7 separate regions of the Homo sapiens genome follow, and all the other regions are linked to region 3. Evidence: promoter capture Hi-C in 16 types of primary human blood cells and fetal thymus (Javierre and others, 2016). All regions are on one chromosome and are shown on one strand. Each heading gives the region's core, a stretch centred on a gene start or on the middle of the fragment in contact. The rest is flanking DNA. Distances are from core to core; before and after follow the strand shown.

What was found. The method cuts DNA at HindIII sites, captures the fragments that hold promoters and counts their contacts. A CHiCAGO score of 5 or more calls a contact.
Region 1: a fragment that was not itself captured here is called in contact with the fragment with the promoter of FLJ42393 in region 3 in 3 of 17 cell types (monocytes, neutrophils and M2 macrophages); the score reaches 6.3 in monocytes.
Region 2: a contact is called between a fragment that was not itself captured here and the fragment with the promoter of FLJ42393 in region 3, in 8 of 17 cell types (monocytes, activated CD4 T cells, neutrophils and 5 more). The highest score is 8.0, in monocytes.
Region 4: a contact is called between a fragment that was not itself captured here and the fragment with the promoter of FLJ42393 in region 3, in 2 of 17 cell types (neutrophils and monocytes). The highest score is 6.1, in neutrophils.
Region 5: the fragment with the promoter of LPP-AS1 here is called in contact with the fragment with the promoter of FLJ42393 in region 3 in 2 of 17 cell types (total B cells and naive B cells); the score reaches 8.2 in total B cells.
Region 6: a fragment that was not itself captured here is called in contact with the fragment with the promoter of FLJ42393 in region 3 in 1 of 17 cell types (total B cells); the score reaches 6.2 in total B cells.
Region 7: a fragment that was not itself captured here is called in contact with the fragment with the promoter of FLJ42393 in region 3 in 2 of 17 cell types (total B cells and naive B cells); the score reaches 5.2 in total B cells.

Annotation. Positions count from the first base shown.
Region 1 is chr3:187,733,789-187,737,105 of GRCh38, forward strand. It overlaps BCL6 (BCL6 transcription repressor), which reads right to left. Exons shown (of 10, transcript NM_001706.5): 2 at 1,081-1,119. Among named protein-coding and RNA genes, the nearest start is that of BCL6-AS1, 8.2 kb to the right of the region's middle. The HindIII fragment of the contact is 8,715 bases long and covers 1-3,317 here.
Region 2 is chr3:187,752,788-187,755,871 of GRCh38, forward strand. No RefSeq gene overlaps it. Among named protein-coding and RNA genes, the nearest start is that of BCL6, 8.9 kb to the left of the region's middle. The HindIII fragment of the contact is 8,209 bases long and covers 1-3,084 here.
Region 3 is chr3:188,176,597-188,179,986 of GRCh38, forward strand. FLJ42393 (a long non-coding RNA gene) reads left to right here and starts at 1,947. Exons shown (of 1, transcript NR_024413.1): 1 at 1,947-3,390. All of the region lies in intron 1 of LPP (LIM domain containing preferred translocation partner in lipoma), which reads left to right. RefSeq lists an enhancer at 2,711-3,323. The HindIII fragment of the contact is 11,595 bases long and covers 1-3,390 here.
Region 4 is chr3:187,789,922-187,793,292 of GRCh38, forward strand. LOC105374263 (a long non-coding RNA gene) reads right to left here. Exons shown (of 3, transcript XR_924812.2): 2 at 3,263-3,371; 3 at 2,674-3,144. Among named protein-coding and RNA genes, the nearest start is that of BCL6, 46 kb to the left of the region's middle. The HindIII fragment of the contact is 5,384 bases long and covers 1-3,371 here.
Region 5 is chr3:188,567,253-188,570,254 of GRCh38, forward strand. LPP-AS1 (LPP antisense RNA 1) reads right to left here and starts at 1,414. Exons shown (of 2, transcript NR_046623.1): 1 at 1,123-1,414. The region is part of intron 6 of LPP (LIM domain containing preferred translocation partner in lipoma); the gene reads left to right. The HindIII fragment of the contact is 3,783 bases long and covers 1-3,002 here.
Region 6 is chr3:188,583,772-188,586,862 of GRCh38, forward strand. All of the region lies in intron 6 of LPP (LIM domain containing preferred translocation partner in lipoma), which reads left to right. Among named protein-coding and RNA genes, the nearest start is that of LPP-AS1, 17 kb to the left of the region's middle. The HindIII fragment of the contact is 369 bases long and covers 1,455-1,823 here.
Region 7 is chr3:188,670,578-188,673,815 of GRCh38, forward strand. The region is part of intron 7 of LPP (LIM domain containing preferred translocation partner in lipoma); the gene reads left to right. Among named protein-coding and RNA genes, the nearest start is that of MIR28, 17 kb to the right of the region's middle. The HindIII fragment of the contact is 1,600 bases long and covers 987-2,586 here.

The DNA.
Region 1 (3,317 bases), core at 200-2,699, 440 kb before region 3:
CTAAGGTACAGAATGCAACTCAGGTCCCTTGTATTTGATCTTTGAACAATTCATAGTCCAACTCTGGCCATTATTCTTCATAGTTTTAAAATGGGGAGAATAACTTTTATCCAACAAGTTGGGATAGAAAGCCCTTTAGGGGAAAAGCAAAGGGAATGAATATTTGTTGAGTGTTTTTCCCACATACCAAATACTCTGCCAAGCACTGACAGGTAGTGAGTATGTTGCAATGGAGAGACACCGTGTTTTTTGTTTTTGTTTTTGTTTTTTGAGATGGAGTCTCACACTGTCACCCAGGCTGAAGTGCAATAGTGCAATCTCAGCTCACTGCAAGTCCGCCTTCCCAGGTTCAAGTGATTCTCCTGCCTCGGTCTCCCGAGTAGCTGGGATTACAGGTGCCTGCCACCATGCCCAGCTAATTTTTTTGTATTTTTAGTAGAGATAGTGTTTCACTATGTTGGCCAGGCTGGGTCTCAAACTCCTGACCTCGTGATCTGCCCAACTTGGCCTCCCAAAGTGCTGGGATTACAGGCATGAGCCACCGCGCCCAGTCAAGACACTGTGTTTTAAGATTATCAGGCTAGACTTGCCTTTTGCTAGCTGTGGGACTTTAAGCAGGTTGTTTACTGGTTTGGGGCTTTGGTTTCCCCAAATGGAAGTAGTAATACCTATGTGGTTATAAAAGTTAGAAATACATTCCTCGTTCATAGGAGGCTCTCAAAACTCATAGCTATTCTCATAGGTATCTTATTTCATCATCTCAGTCACCATTGGTCTCTCTCTACTGTTAGGCTTTAGAGTTGCTTGACTTTTGTACCTCGAGGAGCTAGCATATTGTTGGTGAACATTAGCTGGCTAAATTAGTTTGTACAAAGAAAGAGTAACAATGATTGACCATGCAAGTGGTAAGACAGTCTAATACAGAGGTGAAGGATGAGGACTAGGAGTGATGTAGAGGGAACTGGTTATCCTTGTCTCATATAATGAACAGTGGCAAAGTTCACAGAGACACATGTATTGGCAAATTCAAAAGAAACAGTTTGTCCCAACATTTTAAAGCATATAATTTTATTTACTTACCCAATGCCTTGCTTCACAGTCCAAAATTTTGCTCAAAACCTACAGAGAAGAGAAGAAAGCAAACAGAAATTGATTTAACGAATGTAAGATTGTCCACTATAGTCTTATTTTAGGACATACACATTTAGTTTTGCTTTGATAGTTGCAGCTTGCCAGCTGGTGTGGTTTTACCACAAGCTAACAAACATTTTCCAGCTCTGCTCTTACGGAAACAACAGGCACCCGAAGCTATGAGATAATAATGTTTTTATCCAGAGTACTGGGAGTACAATTGCATACATTAATTAGTTATACATACATACATACATATATTTCCTTCTTCAAAGAAAAAATTTATACTATCCAAAGGCCACTAGAGTTTATGGGAAAGAAAAAATAAGAAAAATGGTTCTGTCAACATTAACAATAACGATTCGTCCGTGGCCTAAAACCACTGGACGTCATTCAAAACCTGCTAAAATATTATCTTTCAAGCCTTAGAATGATTCCGCAAGGACGATAGGGCCAATATCTTTATCCTTATTTCACTGGCGATGAAACTGAGACTTAGGGGTTCAAGTGGCTTGCTCAAGACAAACAGCTAGGCAGTATTTCCTGCCCATCTGAAACATTAAGACTGAATATAGACTCTGCAGAACACAGCCTGAGATGTCATGTCTACGTATTCCTTGAAAACCTTTGTCTTCTTTTTCAAAGTGTTCTCTCCCTTCCCTACTGGGTCTAAGACCAGACAGAATGCCATTGCTTCTAAGTTTGTGCTTCTCCCTGCTGGTAAAAGACTTAACTATGTGATTTAGCTGAGAACTGGCCAGGGAGCACTAAACCTTGAAGAGATTTAATGAAATATGTACCTCCTTCCAAACCGGCTTCTCTAAAACAAAATCATTAAAAGCACAGGTGTAAGACCCTCATTTATGATCAAATGTGGGCTGCAAAATAAAACAATATTTGAACTGTCTTCCCCCCTTTAAAAAAAAAAAAGCAGAACCTTTTAGAGCTATTTTCTGGGTAAAGAGGCCTGAGGCCAACAAGGTCATGTTGGGCCATGTACATGGTTGGTGACCCGGCCCTAGGTCTTCTGGCTCAAATTCCTGTCCCCTTTCCAAATCAGCCTACGTGCTGTAGAACATGCAAGACAGCACCCTGATGTGGGTGAATCTCATTTTTAAGTTCCTTCCCCCACACAAACACTTTGCCCCATTCCAGGCTGCTGAGTCTTACCAAATGAGCACTCTAAAATGAGAGGTTTCCTTGAGTCTGTAACCAAACACTCTGACATTTCTCTGTGGTCCCAAGTGCCAGTCACTCAATCCCATCGGCTCCAAGGTTAGTGTGTGCATGTGAGTGAGTGGGGACTGGAGGGAAGGAAGTGGGGAAGGGAGAAGACAGAAAAAGACAAAAGAACCTATCTCCTCCTCTCCCCAGCCCAACTCGAGATAGGCAAAGAGAGATAGACTAACTCGGTCTTTACCAAACTTCAAGGATTTTCTCCTTTGCAAAAGAAAGCTGAAGACACATGGGAGTGGGAGGTTTACTTAAAAACTTTCCTCTCTTCCTTCATGGAAGGGATCCTCAAACACTTCTGGAATACCTAGGCTGTTCTTTAACCAGCTTCAACCACCAGCTCGCTTGTGGATTTCCAGTCGCAGGCTTCTGGAACCACAGGAAGCCCAGATTTGCCATTTCACCATGACAAGTGGCAATGACTCACTCCAGATGCGGATTGAAACAAACAAACAAATTCCCCTGTGTCCACTGTCAGCTGGGCCTTGGGCTTTTCACCGTAAGCCTCTGCCTGGCCAAAAACAAATGTACATACACGAGGCGCAGGTCCTTCTCAAGTTCACTCCTTTGCAAGCCAACTCGTCTTAAGAACCAGCCCCCCCCAACTCCTGAGTGTGTGGGTTGAGTGTGGGCAATGTTGTCACCACCCCCACCCCAAATGCCGCAGGTGTGGAAGCACCACCAGCATTTGGTTTGTATTTTTACAGAGCTCTTAGTCCTTTCCCACCCCCTCAAGATTGCATCTTATCCTTATAACAGCCCTGCTTTATTAGGGAGGGAACTGAGGCTCCGGGTGAGAGGCCTTGCCCAAAATCTCAAAACCAATTTCCAGCAAGTTCTGGACACGCCGCGTCTCCTAGATTCAGCCATTCCACCAATGCCACACACAAGACTACCCACAAAAACAATCTCCAAGGAGCAGGGCTGTCAATGAGAAACTGACAACTGCTGGC
Region 2 (3,084 bases), core at 25-2,524, 420 kb before region 3:
GCCCGGCTAGTTTTTGTATTTTCAGTAGAGACAGGGTTTCACCATGTTGGCCAGGCTGGTCTCAGTTTTAATGCCATTTCTCAGCAGCTGGAACCAAGGCTTCTTGGAGAAATTGTTGAGTTCTAAAACTGGGGCAGGAAATACACAAATGAGAATGAAAGATCTTGTAGCACCTTAAAGTAAGGAATTATTCAAAAACAAAACTACATTGGTGAGGGATATTTCAAAAAGACACAGGAGCCACTTGAAGAGCTCCCAGTGGCCAAAGCTGCAACAATTTGAGCAACAAAATAGAATAGTGTTTTACATTATAACCCAAAGTATAAAATAAATATTAATGAGTCCAGGGCTGGGTGCAGTGGCTTACACCTGTAATCCCAGCACTTTGGGAGGCCGAGGTGGGCAGATCACTTGAGGTCAGGAGTTCAAGACCAGCCTGGCCAACATGGTGAAACCCTGTCTCTACTAAAAATACAGAAATTAGCTGGGCATGGTGTCGTATGCCTGTAATCCCAGCTACTCGGGAGGCTGAGACAGGAGAATCCATTGAACCCGGGAGGCGGAGGTTCAGTGAGCCAAGATTGTGCCACTGCACTCCAGCCTGGGCAACAGAGTGAGGCTCCTTCTCAAAAAAAAAAAAAAAAAAAAAGTAATGAGTCCATACTATTATAAATAAATTATTAAGTAAATTAATAAACCAGAGAGAAAAGACAAACATCCCGTAATTCCAAATTTATTTATATAGATGTGCACAGGGATTCCAAATAATTTATAGACATGTGCCGGCCTTAAGGAGGAGAAACAGAAACCCACACTCTTTAATTGTGGGCTATAGATAGTAACTTCTTCCCGGGGAGTATATTCCGTATGGAAAGGTAGTCAGGGGAAAATAGCTTAGGAGAAGCCTGACAAACACTCTCTTAGCCAGGGGATTAAGACCAACATCAACAATGATAAATCATCTTGATAGTATATACTCTTGATAGGATGTGGTGAAAATTGTTCTTTCTCTCTGTGGTCCTGCTCTCATAATACTAGTCTAATCATAAGAAAAACATCAGACAAATTCTAGTAGAGGGGCGTCCTACAAAAAACCAGTAATCCTCAAGCCCATCAAGGTCATCAGAAACAAGGAAAGTCTGAGAAATTGTCACAGGCAAGGATTAGCCTAAGGAGACATGACAACTTAATATAATGTCGAATCTTAGATGGAATAATTGGCCACAAAAAGACATAAGATCAACCTAGACAAATCTGAATCAATGATGAACTTTAGTGAATAATAATGTACCGATATTGTTTCACTGTTACACGTGTACCATATAATGTATTATGTTAATCATAGGGGAAACTGGGCACAGGGTTATTCTCTGTACCATCTGCTCAATTTTTCTGTGAATTGAAACATGTTCTTAAAAATTAAGTCTATTACCTGGAGGAGATATCTATATCTCTATATATCATATAGAGATATAGATAGATATCTATAGATATCTATAGAGGTATAGATAGATACGTATATCATATAGAGATGTTATATATATATATATATATATATATATATATATATATATATATACAGCTGGAGGATATATATATATAATTTTCAATACCAGAAACCTCCAAAAAGTGACCCAGATCTCTCCTGAAATCTGGGAGATCCTGCTTCTCACTCATTTTCCTAGAATAGAGTCAGAGAAATGGGGCACCTCATTTATTCTTTTAGTTTACTAATTTACTCCATTTCTGTATGCCACCATCTGCATAACCATCAGGAGAATACTAGAGAGGCACCAAAGGCCAAATGTTGTTGTTGGGGTAGATGGCTCAAGCCACTTCGTGGACCCCCATATTCAAAATTTCTCTGTGGAAACCCACTAAGGAAACAGTGCTCTCAAAGATCTTGTCATCAGTTTATATGGGGCATGCAGAACTTAGAGATTCATTCATGAAGTTGGGGGAGCCCCAAGAGATTCCAAGAGTGTCTGCTATTTCATTGCACAACTCCAATAGAACTGTGGATCTCATCAGAGTTATGAGTCTCGGTGTCTACAGAGGAGAAGCTCCTATCAGACCCCTTAACCCTATGAGTTTGTCTGCATTATCTGAGTACAACCCAATTCTCTAAATTCTGAAAGCATCTATCTTCATCTTTCGGCTTACCAGTTCTACAGTTGAGAAAGGTCCAGAGAGGAAAGCAATTTGCAAACACCACTTAGCAAATTGGTGGCAGAGCTGATTCCCATCACCAGTTCACCCCGAATCATTTATTTTGTTGCAGTATCCACTTTGGTAAACTGAGGCCTGTTATTGTATTGATGTACATTATGACTTCAAAGATGCTTTTTTAATTTCTAACCAATTGTCAGTTATCAATGGCTTTTACTTCTAATGCTGCACTTGAGTTTTAAGTGTCTCTTCTCTTCTTCCCTTCATGTTTTCTGACATCTATTGGCCTCTCTGCCAAGTAGTTATAAGATCTTTGAACTAACACTTATATTCACTGTGAAAGCCAACATTTAAATAACTCTTGGTGAAGTGCAGTGAGACTAGGTCCTACTGTGTTGATTAGTATGACTTTTTCAGATATATTGGCCACATATACCAAGAATCATAAATATAAGCAGACCCTTTGACCCAGAGATTCCACTTCTAGGAATCTATCTTTAATGCATAATTCAACATACAGGAAAAATCAGTGAATGAGTATATGCATCCTAGCGCTGTATTCTAACAACAAAAAATTTGAACAACCTACATGTCCTATCATGACTAGGCTGGAAGAAAGAATGTTGGATGAAGAATGATTAAGTAAATTACAATACAACTAATTTCGAAAAATTAGAATTGAAAGATACTTATGGTAATATGTAAAGTGGAAAGAAGTAGAATATGTATATAGAGATATATGCATATTATATATCTATATAATATTTGTATACAGTATATTCACAGCAATTTTTAAAAATATATTCTTTGTAGAAAATAGACTGGATGTAAATAATAGTACACAATTGACAAAAATATTTACAGTAGCTCTCTTACAGTAGTAGGATTATGAACGCTTTTCTCGGCTTTATTCTT
Region 3 (3,390 bases), core at 697-3,196:
AAAAAAAAAAAAATCAGTTAACCCACATTTATTGACCAGTGCTGTGTGTTCACAACTGTATTTAGACTAGTGGTATAGCAGTGCAGTAGTCTGAAAACATTTTCTCATCTGTAAACAAAGACAGTCATACCTCCTAGGACTGCAAGAAGTCACTGAACATATACCTGGCCCTTAGTGTACACATTACTAAAGAGAATAAGATGTGGTCTGCACCCTCTCATGCACCAGTGGCTTCTTGAGCAGTATGATAGAGAGAGACAGCTGAGATTTAGTGGAAAAACACAAGGCTTAGAATTGGGAGAGCTGGGTTCAAGCCCCAGCTTTGCCACTAAATGGCTGTGTAGTCTTGAACAAGTCACCTGCCCTCTCTGAGCTATAATTTGAAATAGACTTAGCTTAAGCAACAGGAAAGCAGTAATGAGCTAGAGGAAGGATAGAAATTGGGAAGAAGTATAAATCTGCTTAGGAGATGGCAAGTTTGGGGCTGAGGTGGAATTGATCTGAGGGAGAGACCTGGTAGAAAGAGCTAGGCAGTATGAGGCTGAGTGTCTGAAGGGGTAGCAGGCCTGGGGGTGGTCCAGTGATGGTTGAATGGGTGGGCCAGCCCAGCGAGGGGATCGCCTGCAATCCAGTAGAGATGCCCTCATTTTCATGGCAGGGTCCCCCTGTGCCAGTAGACAGACCCAGGCCTGGGAAGGAGGGCTGGTTGAAGTGAGATGGATACCAGTCTTGGAGCATGGTTGGAGAATCTGTCCAGGGTGATGGCATCTGTTTTGGATTGGGGCCTTGAGGCACATTTTCAGTTCTGCTCCCTGGACCAGCATAGGAGGGTGGCAGACAGTACAGTGATTTGAATACAGGATTGATCCTGCCACCTTGATTTCTGCCTTTATTTAGCGGCAAAGACACTAGATCAGAAAAGTACTGGATGTGATTGCTGTAGTCTTTCATGATTGATTTAGGAGCTGGGAGAGGCCTGGCTAGGAGTTGGAGGATCCCTGGGAAGATGAAGATTAGGTCTTACGTGAGCCTCAGCCCTCTCCTCTGTAAAATGGGAGTAATGATGGTAATTATGCTGATGTTACCTATTCTGACTGGAGTAAGGATTAAAGTACTTGTCTGGAGGAAGGCACTTCATGGTTAAAACATGAAAAGAGAAGTGCACAGTGTTTTTATTACAGGGAAACACCAAAGAGCTGGAAAGGAATGAGGGCTGGAGAGATGGAGCTGCCCTGAGGACTCTGGGAGGTCATCCTGGGGGCAGAACTTTGACAGTTGCTGCCCGAGGTGGGACAGGGATGCTGGGAAGATGTGACGATGTGCATAAGTGTGTCATGTTCAAGATGGTTCTAAGCCCTGGCCAATTCCATACATGCTCTTTTCCTTTCTCATCCATAGAGGTTTTGGCAAAGGCATACTTGGGAGTGTTGATATAGCTGACACTGCAGCACCCTCAGTTTACAGGTGTGAGAAGAGTGAGGCTCCCACAGTCTCACTTGGACAGGTAGTCAGGGCTCTGATGGAGCTCCTGGAGTTTCTAGGTTCTCTGTCACTTGATAGTCAGTGCTGGGAGGGACCTCAGGGAATCAGCCAATTTCACAGATGGGGAGAGTGAGGCAGGTTGGGAATTCTGGCCCCAGTGGAGGGCACCACATGCCCACAGGGAAATGTCTTTCCCAGCCCCCTCCTCATGCTTCTCCTCTTTTCTGTCTGGAAGTCCTAGTTCTCCTCCTCACGCTGAGACCCAGGTAGGGTGATTGTCCATGTTTCTTCATTTATCTGTTTTTTTTCTGTTGCCCAGGGACTACTCTAAGCACCATGCTGGTTGCTGACTGTTCGCTTTTGCAAGATCTTGGAATCTCTGTTTGTTCACATCACAACTCAAGAGGATACGTTCTCATTCTCCCAATGTTTGTCTTCTGCCCATTGCATCAAATTGCTCTTCCTTGTTTGGAATTAAACTTCTAGCAATCATTTACCTTTATGGTTCTCTTAACTTCAGGTCACACTGTTGTTTAGTCAATGTGAGAATCTTTCAGATGTTCTGCACTTTGCAAAAGGATATTCACAGCCAATGTGTGCGGCAGTGAAGGACACTTGTTGATTCCTTATTTATTGTCTGCTGTTCCAGGGACCGGGGACTAGAGGTGAATAAAGCCTTGTTTGGGCTGTCTAGGATGTTGTGATCGACACAGGAAACAGACATGAAAGCCAAATTGGCGCAGTGGGTGAAGTATTGTAATACTGGTCTCTGTTTATGATATATGGAAGAAGTTTCCTAGTAGCAGGGTGGGTGAGAGAGTCCATCATCATTGCAGATTGGTGCCTCTGTGGACATGCAGGTATATTAGGCCAGAGGTGGGGAGTGGGAGAGAGAGGGAGAGAGAGAGCACGACAAAGAGAGAGAGAGAGAGTGAGCAAGAGAGAGGGAGGGAGAGAGACAGAGAGAGAGAGAGAGAGAGAGAGAGAGTGAGCAAGAGAGAGGGAGGGAGAGAGACAGAGAGAGAGAGAGAGAGAGAGGTTTTGAGAGCATTGATATGGGGTCTACATATTCCCCCCGGCCCCCATTCCCTATTATCATAGAAGCATGCTGCCCTCCAAGGCTTTTGAATTTGCCACCGTGAAGAGCATGCATGGAATCTTCGGCTGTGGCCTTGCATTGCCCCCTGTCTTCGCAGCGGAGCTTCTTTATCTGACCCGTGCATGTGCCTCTGATGAGCAGCCCTTCATCACAGCTCTGCGGCCTCCTCCTAGGCCCCCGCCTTCAGCTCTCCAGTTCATTTCCCGCCTTGTTCCCATTGCCACCTGCGGGCTTGGAGGGCCACCTGACATTCTGTCCTTTGGGTCCCCTGTGACTCCAGAGCTCCTTCCCTTCTGGGGCGCCCACATCTGCGACACGCTTGTTTGCCCAGTGCATTTTCTACACTTAGAGTTCCTCTCGTGCTCTCATATTTCCATTTAAAGCCCTCTCGAGAGGTCTGTCTCCTGCCAGCAGCATTCCTTCTAGTTTACTAGAACTCCATTTCTCATCCTGCCAGGAATCCAGCCGTGGAGTGAGCTTCAGCAAGCCTCTCTGCAGTCTCTTGTCTGCTCCAAAACTGTGGCCTCTGGTTGTGAGAAATGGGCATCCTGAGTCAGTGAGAGCAGTAGTTAGCTTGCAGCAGCTTCCCCTCTCCCCCTGAGTGAGCCTTTCTTCCTCTTCCTCCTCTTTCATTCAGCCTCATCCTGCCTTGGGTCCATTTGACAGATAATGGCACCTTGAGGCCTTGTCTTTTGCATGGCATCTGTGCCTGACTGGTCAGAAATTACTTGTGAAGCAACATAGGGGGTTGTTGGTTGGGTCCACTTTTAGGATGAAGTCAGAAGGGATCGTGAGTGATGCTTGGCCAA
Region 4 (3,371 bases), core at 613-3,112, 390 kb before region 3:
GGGAGGGAGGGGGAGGGAGGGGAGGGAGGGGAGGAGGAGGGAGGGAACAGAGAGACGGAAGGAGGAAAGAAGGAAGGGAGGAAGGGAGGGAGGGAAGAAGAAAAGGAAGGAAGGAAGGAAGGAAGATGAAACAAAACCTCCCTCTACCGGCCTCCAGCAATTAACCTACTACCCAAATTCCTTCACAGATTGTCTGCACTTACTCTGTCCACTTCCTTACCTCCTATTCATGTTTGTTTTGCTCCTACCTTCACCATTTTATCAGAGCTGCTGTCAAGAAGGGCAACAGTAAATTTGTCCTGGCTCTATCTCCAGTTCGATCTTTATTACAGTAGACATTTCTTAATTCTTTGAAATTCTTGACCCTAACTAGATCATGTCCCTTGGTTCTGTCACATCAAATTTCACTGGTTCTCTTCTTGTCTTCCTGGATGTTCTTTCTCAGTATCTTTTAAGGGCTGCTTGAGCTCTGTTATTCTATTGAATGCTGTTCCTCCGGTTTTAAAAATATTTTCTTTGACCCTTTCTCACTCTACAAGTTCTCTCTTAAAATGTTATATACTCTTATGGCTTTAATTACTCTCTTGATTCTAATGACTTCCAATTTTAGATTTTTAGACTAGATTGCCCATCTGAGTTTCAAACCTGTGTGTATAAATTCCTCCTGGGTATCTCATAAGCACCTTGAATTCAGCATGCCCCAAGCGCAGCCAATATTCCCCCCTCTCCTTAACCTTTTATTCCTCCTGTGTTTCCATCTAAAGAAAGGGCCCTGCCCTCCCCACTACCTGTCTCTCAAGGCAGAAACATTGCTATCGTCTTTAACCCCCGCTCGCTGTGACTCTCCATCCCTAAGCACTCAGCCGCCAAGTCCTATCAACTCTACTTCCTAAATCTTTCTCAAATTTGTCTACTGAGCCCTATCCCCAGTGTCACTGCCTAACTGCAGTTCCCAGGATTTCTGCCACAGCTCTTAACCCAGCTTCCAGCCCTGGGTTTGCTTTCCTTCTGGTCTCCCACAAAGCACCCCAAGCGGTCTTTCTAAAGCACTCTCTGAACTTATATTTGTCCTGCTTAAAACTTTTTTTACATGGCCTTCAGGATAAAGCCCTAACTCTACAGGAGGCTTAAGCGGCCCTGCCTGATCTTATTCCTGCTCACTTTCCAGCCTTATCTTCTCCTTATCCCAAACCTCACACCTCACTTCACTCTCCCTGCAACTGACAGCATCTGCTTACCAGGACACCTGGACCTCTCTTGCCTCAGATCATTGCATGTGCTGTATCCATCCCTCCACGTTTGTCCTGGATTACTCCAATCATCCCTTCACTCTCATCTTAGAAGTAACATCATTTGTTTATTCATTCAACAAATATTTACTGAGCACCTACTATGTGTCAGGCACTTGTAATACAACAGTGAGCAAGAAACACATGGTCTCTGCCCTAAGAGGCCTTCCTTGACTTTCTAAGACTGAGTTGTCTTCCACAGAACGCTGTCCTTACCCCACATGGCACTGTCTCCAGTGTATTTTAATGACTTTTAAACCAGTGTCAACCAACATTTTATGTAAAGGGACAGATGAGGAACAGTCAACATTTTGGTTTTGCAGGACATAAGGTTTCTCTCAGAACTATTCAATTCTGCAGTTGTGGAGGAACAGTGGCTAAGAGATATATATATAAATGAATTGGCATGGTGTATTCCAATAAAACTTTATTTATAAAACAAACAGTGATCCGGAGATGGCCCATTGGCCATAGTTTGCTGACCCCTGGTCTAAACAGCTAAACTAGGATGTTTTTATTTACCTTTGCATCCACAGTGCAAGCATAGCATTTGACATAGGGGCTTCTCCATACAAGTTTGTGGGATGAATAAGTGAACGGTAAATGAACAAATTAGGATGGACCTGTTTTGCTCTTTTTCCTCTGTGGCCATATCTTCTTGGTCACAATATGCTCCATATTTATTCTGTGTAGTCAGTGACACCCCCTCCCCTCACTTCAGATAGTTTTCATCTCCTGTTCATCTAAACATTCATGTTGAGCAAATACCATATCAGGAATGTGGGTTACTTTGGTGGTCATTAAGATTTAAAGCCTTTGTTACTACCTCTCAAGCATTCCCCACAGCATCGTGTTTGTTTTTCTTTTAGGTATGATGGTTAAATTTTGTACTGTGTAGTTATACTTCATATATTGATTATAGACTTTAGTAATTCTGTGTGCGTATAGATGTATTCATTCCTTTGTTGCATAAATATTTATTTAAATCTACCTTAAAATCTTTCTGGAGCATGTAGGATATTATAAACAAACCGCAATTAAATCAATGTGTAAAGCACTTATTATGTACAGGGCACCAGGAGAAGTTTCAGTGTGCAGTGGGGACAAAGATAATTCAGATAAGGTATTGTCACTAAGGGGCTTATCTGTTAGAAAGGAGGTAAGAATGTAACAGCAAATGATTACAATACAATGTAGAAAGTGCTAACCTCTTTAAGAAAGGAATCAGAAAATCTTAGGAATTAAAATTATCTTGGGCCAAAGAGATCAAAAAAGGCTCAGAGGGAGAAGTATTTGATCTGGAAATGAAAAGGTAGGTATTCAGGATACTGATATGACACTGAAGGGTCTTTGAGACAGAGAAAAGTATAGGCACATCCACAAGTTACTAGAAAGCAAGTTTTAATGAAGCTACAACCAGGGACTGGCTGATAAAAGTGAAGCCAAATCCCTTCAAGAAGGTGCCAAGTCCATTCTGGTCTGGAATGCATTGATAATTGGGACATTATGCTCAGAGACTCCAAATTGACATTCTGTCGTCATCCCTCTTGGAATAGAAACTCTGATCCTTTAAAGTAATTAGCACCAATTTGGAGCATGTGTGCAAAAATAAATCACCAGTGTCCAAAAACAGATACATTAGGTTCAATGGTTATGAAGCAAATGTTCTTATTAGCTCCGCCTACGTAAACAAAATCAGAAGTAATTAGCATTTAAAAATAGAAGAGACAAGAAGAGATCACAGTTCCCACTGGAAAATTATTATTTATATAAAGGTCCACAATGCTGACACACACGACTTGCCCTTCCTGGTCTCAGTCCTGTTTTTCTGTGGCTACAGGATCAGTTTTCTTTCCTGAGGGAAAGGAGAAGAAACTGTGATTGTGTGCATTTCAAACGTCTTGGTTGAAATTGAAAAGTGTGTGTTCTCCACCAAACAAAAATATATCTTTTCTCCATCTCCTCCTCCCTACCTCTTCAGTGTGCCTCATCCCATCCTCTTCTCGGGTGGGGAGAGTTTGCTGTGTCTCGAGATTGTGAGCAGAATCTGCCTCCAGATTGCAGGAAATACTATTGGCCTTT
Region 5 (3,002 bases), core at 164-2,663, 390 kb after region 3:
TTCCTTAACCTCTCTGCGCCTCAACTTCCACATCATTAAAATGGGGATGATAATAGGACCCATCTCATAGGATTGTTAGGACTATTAAATGTATTATACTCTATTACTTGTATCCTATAAAATATCTTTCTCACAGTTTAATTTCTTGAAAATTGAAACACATCCTATGATTGATGTGGTAAGAAACCATTGTAACACATATTAAGTGACACCTGTTGGTTCTTTGTTAGTAGGTTAGTAGGGAAAAAAAAAGATGCAGTTTATAGTCAAAGCCGTGTGTAAAGTGTGTCTAAAGTGCTTAAAACAAAGCCTGTCATACAGTTGGTCTTATAGAATGATGCTGTTATCATCATTGCCTGAATACCATATTTGTGGTATGTAAAATATTTGTCTCCAATTTCACTGGCTTCTGTCCTATGAAGCAGATATACTTATAGTTCCTGGTCTTTGAGTAAATAGAGCCTAGAAGGATTATCAGATATTACACAACTGCCAAATAATGACTTACATCAAACCAAGAGTTTATTCCTCTTCTCATGCATATCAACACCTGTTTAATCTGATCATGTTTTCAAAAACCCACTAGTGATCTATTTATTTCTAGCTATAGCTTTCATCACCTGTATTTGGTGATTTGTTGCTGGCAGAGTCCATACTCATAACACTAAATCTGACTACTGTGATTACAACAGTCTTTCTAAGTTAGATACCACTAATGATATTGATTAGGGAGAAGGCATTCTTTGTGATCCTATTTGCACGATCTCGGGTAATTCACTTACTGGACCCAATTGTTAGTTGTGAAATGTGAATGTTGAAAGCAGTGAATCTTCCAGCTGCTTGATTTGTGATATCACTATCAATTTACCTACTGAGGAGCTTCATATAAATTGGTCATTTGTAGAAAGTAGTTCAGTGGCTGAGAATCTGGCATAATATTTTATTTTTATGAAATTTCAGTAAACATTATTGAGCAACTTGTAGGTTTCAGGCTCCACGATAGGGATGCAAGCATGTAAGACCTCTGTCCAGCAACTGAGAGGTAAAACTACAATGAGAAAGATAGACTGGTAATTCAGATTTATTTTTAAATAATAGCTTTTTGAGATATAATATACTTACCCTTCAATCCACTGACTCTGGTTTTAAAGGAGATGATTAATACATTCACTCAACCGATATTGAGCATCTGATATGTGCCAGAGACTTCCTATGTGCTAGGGTTATGGAGATTGACAATAGTTATACAAAACTGAGCCTGTCACAAAATGTGTATCGACAGACAGTCTTCCATTTGGTGCTATAGACCAGTACTCAGGGTCAGCAGAGGGTACTCTGGAAGCATATTCAGGGACAAAGCAAACCTAGTCTTGGAAGATCTGAGGAAGTTTCCTATGATCATGTCTGTCTCCTGCCATAACACCCTGAATGCATCCGATCTGAACTAAACTGAGGTCTGACAAACTTGTAGGAGTTTGCGAGGTGAGTGGCTTGGGGAAAGTAGAGAGGAAGAAGTTTTTCTGGAAGAGAAAAGAAAATATGCTGTGGCTCTGAGGTGAATCACATATAATGCACAATAGCTTAGTATTGTGATAACATTTGGGACTGTGTGGGCAGACAGTGGCTGCAGGGCCTGAAGGGTGGAGAGGGGGAACTTACGCTTCAGTAGGGGTGTATATGTCTTATTATGAGGTCACAATGAAGATTGAGGTCAGCTAGAGGATGTGACATTCGAGTTGGGTCACAAAGGATGTACAGGAGTTTTTCAAGGCTGACCACAGTCTAGGCAGAAGAAATTGCAATTGTGAAAGGAAGATTTGCGTGAAAGAATGGTGTTTTTGGCTGAGTGAGGAATTTGAAGTATCTGGAAAATGGAGTAAGTGGCACAGAGAAAGAAAACAGCCAAATAATAATAATAATAATAATAAATTGGTGAGGGTTCGGAGAGCCGCTTACAATTGGATTCGGTGCAATGCAATGACTTTATATGTTCTGTACCTTGTCCTTGTAGGCAGTTGCAGGCACTAGGGACAGGAGTCTGGGGGGAAGACAGGAGCATTGAAAGTTTGAGGAAAAAATGAGAAGCATGCTTTAGAAAGATAATCTGAATATACTTGAATTGGAGGGGCCCTGGATTGTGAATGAAAATTAGAAGTATGTCATCTGTATTGTGTAGGATAGTGCTTATCTACAAAGAATTTTATGTAGAATTCCCCATCAGATTAACCCTTTGCAGCAATAGCCAATTATTTCTGATATTAAAAATTATAATTAAATAAAAGATATGGATTGGTAACTAAACATTTATTGAGAAGTTACTGTATCACTTCCACAAATCAATTCACTTATTTTTCTTAGTAATCCAATGATGTAGCCTGTCATTTCTCCCATTTTTCAGCAGAGGAAATTGTGGCCCAGAAGGTTGTATGTAACTCATCGAGGCACTAAGTGGCAGAGGTCATGTTTCAGCCTCGGCCATCTGGCTCCAAAGCCTAAATGTATGAATTGGCCACTAAAGGCACAACTGAAAATACTAACAGTCCCTGTGTTAGTGAAGAGGGATATTTGGCAAAAAGTTTTTATTTTGCTTTTTTACAATTCAGTGATTTGTAATTTATTTACAGAGTCATGCAATCATTACCTCAATTTAATTTTAGAACATTTAAAAAGTCCATGCTCATTTGCTTCCCATTCTCACTCTAACCCTAGATAACCTCAAATCTACTTTAGTGGTAGTCAGTTTGTATGAATGGCAACTTCAGTTTAATGGCTTTTTTTTTTTTTGAGTAGTCACAATCTGATAGCCTTAATCACTAATTCAGGAGAATAACATTGTTTGACCATATCATTTCTAACTTCTGCATGCAATTAGTGTACTCTATTCATAATTTGATGCAGAGAAGGGTAAAAGTGACAGGCCTTGTGGCAGTCATTGGTCAAAGGCATATGAGTAAGACTGCCTGAGACCCTACCCTGGAGTTCTGTCTTGCAGGTAAGGCACA
Region 6 (3,091 bases), core at 389-2,888, 410 kb after region 3:
TGATCCCATCTTTCCTTCTGTATCATAAAATAGAATTTTCTTACCTCTGTAATTTCTCCCTAGGAACCAGACTGCTTCTAGAGAGCTTCTTCACAAAATCAAATTAATTGGTATTTTACAAGGAGGGAAAGCCCCAGGACAAGTCCCTTCTCTTGACCACAAAGTTCTGTGTTTCTCATCTTTCCTCTTGATGTCTTGGTTTCAGCAAAGCAACATTTCTATCCCTGCCCCCTGCTCCCCCATAATCCTACAAATGTACTATAGATATGTGTAAGTACTACATCCCCAATCAAGTACAGCGTTTGGCCTCGGGTGGGAGTCAAACAGCAAGCTGATTTTTAACATTACTTGGAAGAAATTTTCTAGGTATATAACTGACAAACATTCATGGAGAGCTACTTCATTTTTCTGTCAAGCTTTTGGGGGATTTTTTTTAATAGTTCTGCACTTTGAAAGAAAGTTCACAATTTTTAAAAGGAAATGTGGCCCTTTTCATTAGCTCCTTTTACCTCATGCTGAGTCATGGATGAGAGAGAATTTGTAGGCGGGTGAGCTGCAGGAAAAGTAATACTGTCATTTACACTTGCAGGCTGTTATGCTTTCCAGAAAACTTTTTCCGTAGGTTGCGAAAGTGATTAATCTGCTGTTAAAACTGACAAAGAAGGTTCTCTGATAAGAGAAAGAATTAAATGAGGAATTTTTCTTTAAAAAGTAAGCGCTTCTTTCCCATTTTAGATTAGAAAAATAAGTTTAAATGTTTCTTTTAATTTTAGTCGTGTGTGTGTGTGTGTGTGTGTGTGTGTGTGTGTGAAGTTGGCCATGACTTAATACAATCTCAAGCCATTTTCTATTTAAATTATGTTTTTTTACTTATTGGCATGGCTTATTCCTCATGCTGTATATCTAAATTATTCATTTCTACATCCTGTTCCCTTGCTTGTCTCTCTTTCTTCTTCTTTTTTTTTCCTTTCATTTTCTTTATTTGGGTCTTTTCAATACTTTCAACATCATCTTACTTCGGAGCCCCAGATCTCTTCTTTTCTACCAACCTTTTTTGAAACATTAAAACTGGTGAAGATGGCCTGAGTTCTCTCTGTGATATAAATTTATCCCTCCCTGAAAAATTCCATTCATGTAACATTTTTATAACACTTTTTAAAACTAGGATGAAAGTTTTTTCATGTAGTTGAAATGAAGCATCACTGCCTAAAGCGTTTAGAAATTTTTTTACTGTTGGTTTTAAGAAATTACTCTAGGATTTCCACTGAGGACTGGCAAGTATTGGTGAAGTTTGATCTCTCAGAGCTCATGTTTCAGATGGCAACTTAAAGGGACAAATAAATAAGTCAATCACACGGCATAATCTAACTTTAATATGATTCTGCAGAGAACCAGTGACTCATTTAGAGAAATCAGAGTCCTCAGAAAGGTGGAAAACATGTTAGAACTTATTAAGCTTGTTGCCTTTAGCATGTCAATGCCTTGTTTTTATAAGAAGATTCAATGGGTTGTTAAAATGCACTGTCTTAACCCTCTCCCCTTTGTATTTTTCTACTCTTAAGATGCATCATTTTATGTTGGGATCTATCAGTTTATTTTACTTGTTTTTCCTTCTTCCTCTCCTTATTTTGAAGGCTGACTTCTGAGCTTGAGCCATATCCTTGGCAACTGAATGAATTCATGGGGAGTATAGTAGAAAAGATTTTCTCACAACTCTGACAGCACTGCCCCCTAGTAAAAAAGGGAAGAGACAAAGAGAAATGGTCCCTTCTGCAACTGAAGGGACCAGCACAGGGGACTTGGCATTCTTCTTTTAGTCCTAAAGCTTAGACATACATACTGCTTTCGCCCCTGGGCTACAAATACATGTTTTAAAATTCTGAAGTTGAAAACGTCAAAACCATTTACAATTAAAAACCTGCTATTACTGTATATTTATACAGGTATTTCATAAGGGAAAAAGTAGAAAACATGTAAATGTATTTGTTTTATGTCTGAAGTTCCAAGATTATTTCTGTTTCTTTACTGAATGTGTTTGAAATATATGCAAACACACATGTAAACATACCTGTATATTTATGTACAGATATAAGTCTACATGGAGACCAGCATTTTTAGATAACACTGTTTTACAGGCTGTGCATCCATCTTTAAGGTGCTATAGCATAAGGTCTATGACTGCATTTTGTAATAAAAGATGGCAGGCTTTCTGGAAAGGGTCTCTTTGGGGCAGGAAGAGGTGTGAAGATCTTTTGCATTCTACTTTTAAAGTACAACAAGTTAAATTGCTACCAGATACATTAGCTTTATGGAGGTTTGTTTCCATTTTTATAGCAAAATCAAATAACTTTTAAATCAGAGGAAAAAAATATTCTTTTGTTGTTTTTATTTTTGTTGTTGAGATTGCCTGTTTTACGTTGAGTGCAGTGTTTTTCAGGTGGAAACATATTGGTTTGACATTTTAAGAGGAAAATGTTCTATATGTAATATGAAAGAGTCTTTTTCTTAACTAAATGCCAGCAACAAAATTTAAACCAAAAAATGTAGTAATGAAACAATGGTAATGAGATATGATTATGGTTTAGTGAGAGAAAAAAGCCCTGCAGGGAACAGTACAAGCACAGTAAATTATGAATTGCTACTAAATAGGCCTCATTAGTCCACTGTGGACCATGTTTAATTGATATTAGAAAGGAGTCTGGAAAACTTTGGAAAGTACATGTAAGACAACTTGCTGTTAAACTAATAAAAGTCGTTAGAGTGTCTGTTTCAAAAATTAGTAATTATTAATTGTGTGTGAGGGTCCTCAGGCAGCACCCATTTTACTAAAACATGCTTAGAGAAAAGATATTTCTATGAGAAATGAAACTGCAGAATGCTGAGCAGTGTAATATGTGACAGTTCCCTGGGAGTTTCTCCCCTCCTCGTAGGTATTTTTAGCAAAATAGTCCTTAAACATTGTTTTTTTTTTTTTTAAGTTGGAGTCTCGCTCTGTCGCCAGGCTGGAGTGCAGTGGCCCGATCTTGGCTCACTGCAACCTCCACCTCCTGGGTTCCAGCAATTCTCCTGCCTCAGCCTCCCGAGTAGCTGG
Region 7 (3,238 bases), core at 537-3,036, 490 kb after region 3:
ATGAGAGCATTTTTGAGACTGGGACCTCATGTTGAACTAAACTCACCTCCACGTTGGCACGCACGTTACTTCCTCTTCCACTGTATAATTTTGCCGTTGGATTAAACTCATGTGGTTGGTGCTAAGGCTTTGACCACAGGCACATTTGAAGATTATACTTATTTCTGGATACAACCTCCTTTGCCTCCAAACTGAAAGGTTGGAAGGATGACGGGAACAAACTCAAGTCAAGGGATTCCAAATGGTCACATCTTATGACCACAGGCTTTATATTTGGAGCGCTACCATGATTAATGTGTCCTCGTTGCCATCCTAAGACTTCCATCATTTTCTTCCATTGTCTTTCTGACTTCAGCTCCGTTGCTACTTCTGGGCAGTTATAGGTTTCTAACCCAATAGGGCAATTTCAGTTTCCCCCGCGTTTTCTACATAAGTTGTCCTTTCTCCACATATTTGTTTATGCAGTTTAAGTCTTGCCAGATTGTTCTCTCTACGTTCTAAAATCTTTCCAATTTTGAAAGTCTTAGATCAAGTACTACGCAGCTGAAAATGGCTCTGCCTCTTTTATGGCATTTAATATCTACCTTGGATTATAGTTATTATAACGACCATAGATACTAAAACTTTGAAAAGAATAACAATTTGAATTCCTTTGTCCTATCCCCATAGGACCTAGCATTGCCTCTTTCAATTAATAAATGTGTAAGGAATAAATTATTTTGGCATATTATCCCTTGTCTTTTAAAAGTTTCACAGGAGTCCCTTTGCAATCAAGTTAAAGGCTATAAAAATTTAACATCTAGTTGTGTTGGCAGAGTTGTCAGCATTTACTTCAGTTTATCAAACTTCAATATTTATTTAAATTGAAACCAATCAGCCATTTTTTTCTATGCAAATCACAAATCTCATTTATTAATGCCTTCCCCTCCCCCTTTCCCTTACTACATCAATAGGAAGATTACATCTTGACATGATAAAAGGAGACAAGCTTTCGTTAATGTTAAGAATCTGCTCCATGGCCCCCTTTGCCCAGAAAGTCATGAATTCTGATAATCAAGGGGCAGTTGCCTATGTTATTTTTTTTTAAGTTTCTAGTTAATTATTTGCTCTTCCTTATTTGCATTTTGAGATGTAACAGTAGAGCAGTTTACCCATTCTCTCCTGAAAACTATGAGTCTGTTTCAGACAAATTACTATACTAGGCACCCACCCTCAGTGGAGGTGCAGGAGACTCTAGGCCCGGAATGGGTGAAATACCAGAAGTTGCATTTGAATATAATATTGACTAATTAGTCAGCCAGAAATGAGAGCTCTAAACATGCTCTTTTTGTGTCATTTACTGCATTTGTGGAGCATCTAATTATAAAGAAAATAAGTATTCTTCATTGGTTGCTAGTAAAGCTGCCACTGAAGGGCAAAAAGACATATAGCAATCATTGTTTAAATAGAAGCGCTTGAAAATTTTCCATTAATTTTCGTGTTTGCATTTTGAATGCTTTCTTGCTCACACTTGAGGTATCAAACTGAACAAGTCTGAACTGACTGCGTAAGAATTTAAGCAAGAACTGGGAGGGGTAGAAATGAGGAAGCTATTTGCATTCCTGGAAGACAAAACTCACGTTTATAATCTTTCTTGATACTAAGGCAGTTTGTTTCCCAAATGCTATTTATGGTGAGCTTTTTGTCTTCAAATGTTTGTTATAAGACTCTTTTTTTTTTTTAATCATCCAGTGCAGAAGTTCATGAAAGAAAGTGAAAGTGCACCCATACCCCCATTCATTTTCCAGAGCTTACCCTGTTTGGTACATTATCTTGTTGGCTCATGTTTTGCTTGGTTTTGTTTATGCAACTTTTTCTTATTAATTTGTTGTTGTCGTTGGATGGAGTTAGGGAGGGTTAAAGGACTGGAGTAAAAATGCTATTTATCTTTACCCCTTCTTCACTTACAGTGTGTGTACGTTGATGGAGGGGGTGGTGGGGATAGAGGGTGATTTTACCTGCTCCATTTTTGTTTCTATTTGCTGCTACCAGCTTGCTTCTTAACCCTGGGCAGAGGCTGCCCTGCAGGCAGGAGCAGAATAAGCTGTCTGTGCCCTTCCTCTTCCTATACCTTTGAAGATTGGTGCCTTTCACTGTTTTCCAATCGCTTGTTCTTTCCATAAGCTCGTTCCCTTCTCTCCACTGCTTTGACAACACCTTTTAGAGTTGCTCCTGGAGCTGCTGCCAAGACAATAGTATGTTTTCTCTTTTAAAGGTCTAAACCCTGGGAGGAGAGGAACTGGAGGAATTGAGTCAATATAATATACGAATCACTTTATATTTTACTATCTATAATTTAGTTTTTGACTTCCATTTCTAAGGAAAAAATTGTTTTCTTTTATTGTTTTTTTTTTTTCTGTTTCCATTCAGCACTCGTGTACTGAGAATCCCCAAGCTATATTAAGTCCCATTTGGGCCATTAATGTGTGTGCAACATGGTCTGTCTGTTCCAGTAGAGAAAAAGGCATATAAATAACTTTCTTATCACTGGTTATATGCTTTGAAGGAGTACAAATTAAACAACCTGTGGAAGTTCAAGTAAAAGAAAGCTTATTTCCAGTCACGAGAAGTTAAATGTGAGCTGGGCAGATTCATAATAGAGAAGTACCGTTTTTTTGTTTGTTTGTTTGTTTTTAACTCTGAGGGCCCTGTGAGCTTGGTCAATTTACATCATCTCATGAATGACATAGGGCCCTATATGTGGAAACAAATAACAACAACAACAAACCACTGTAGAGTCATATCAAAGAAAAATGAAGGTGGTATTCATCCACATCAATATTAAGATAAATTATTAAATATTTATAAAACTCTTTGACAGTGTACAGCCTCTATAATTAATCAATGTAGCACTTTCTCAATACTTCCCCATTTTAATTAGTACCAACATCAATCATAATTAGGCTCATGCTTTGGTCTCTCTGAGACTTTTAAAACATTATGGGTAGGGGGCATTTTTCAGGATTCAGGTATCAGCTAAGAGTTCATTTAGCCAGTAGATCGTGACCATTCTTCCTCTCCCTGAAGCTATGATTCTGGATACTGTGGCTCTTCCTGCTCCTCCAGACATAGAGAAAATGGACAAGTTTCTCCTTCCCCATTTTGAGTGCATGATGTGAAAACTTAGCTTGTCCAGCCAAACTGGAGGAAGGAGAGGCGGGACTTATTGGAGTAACTGAAAAGAGAAAAATTGGAATAT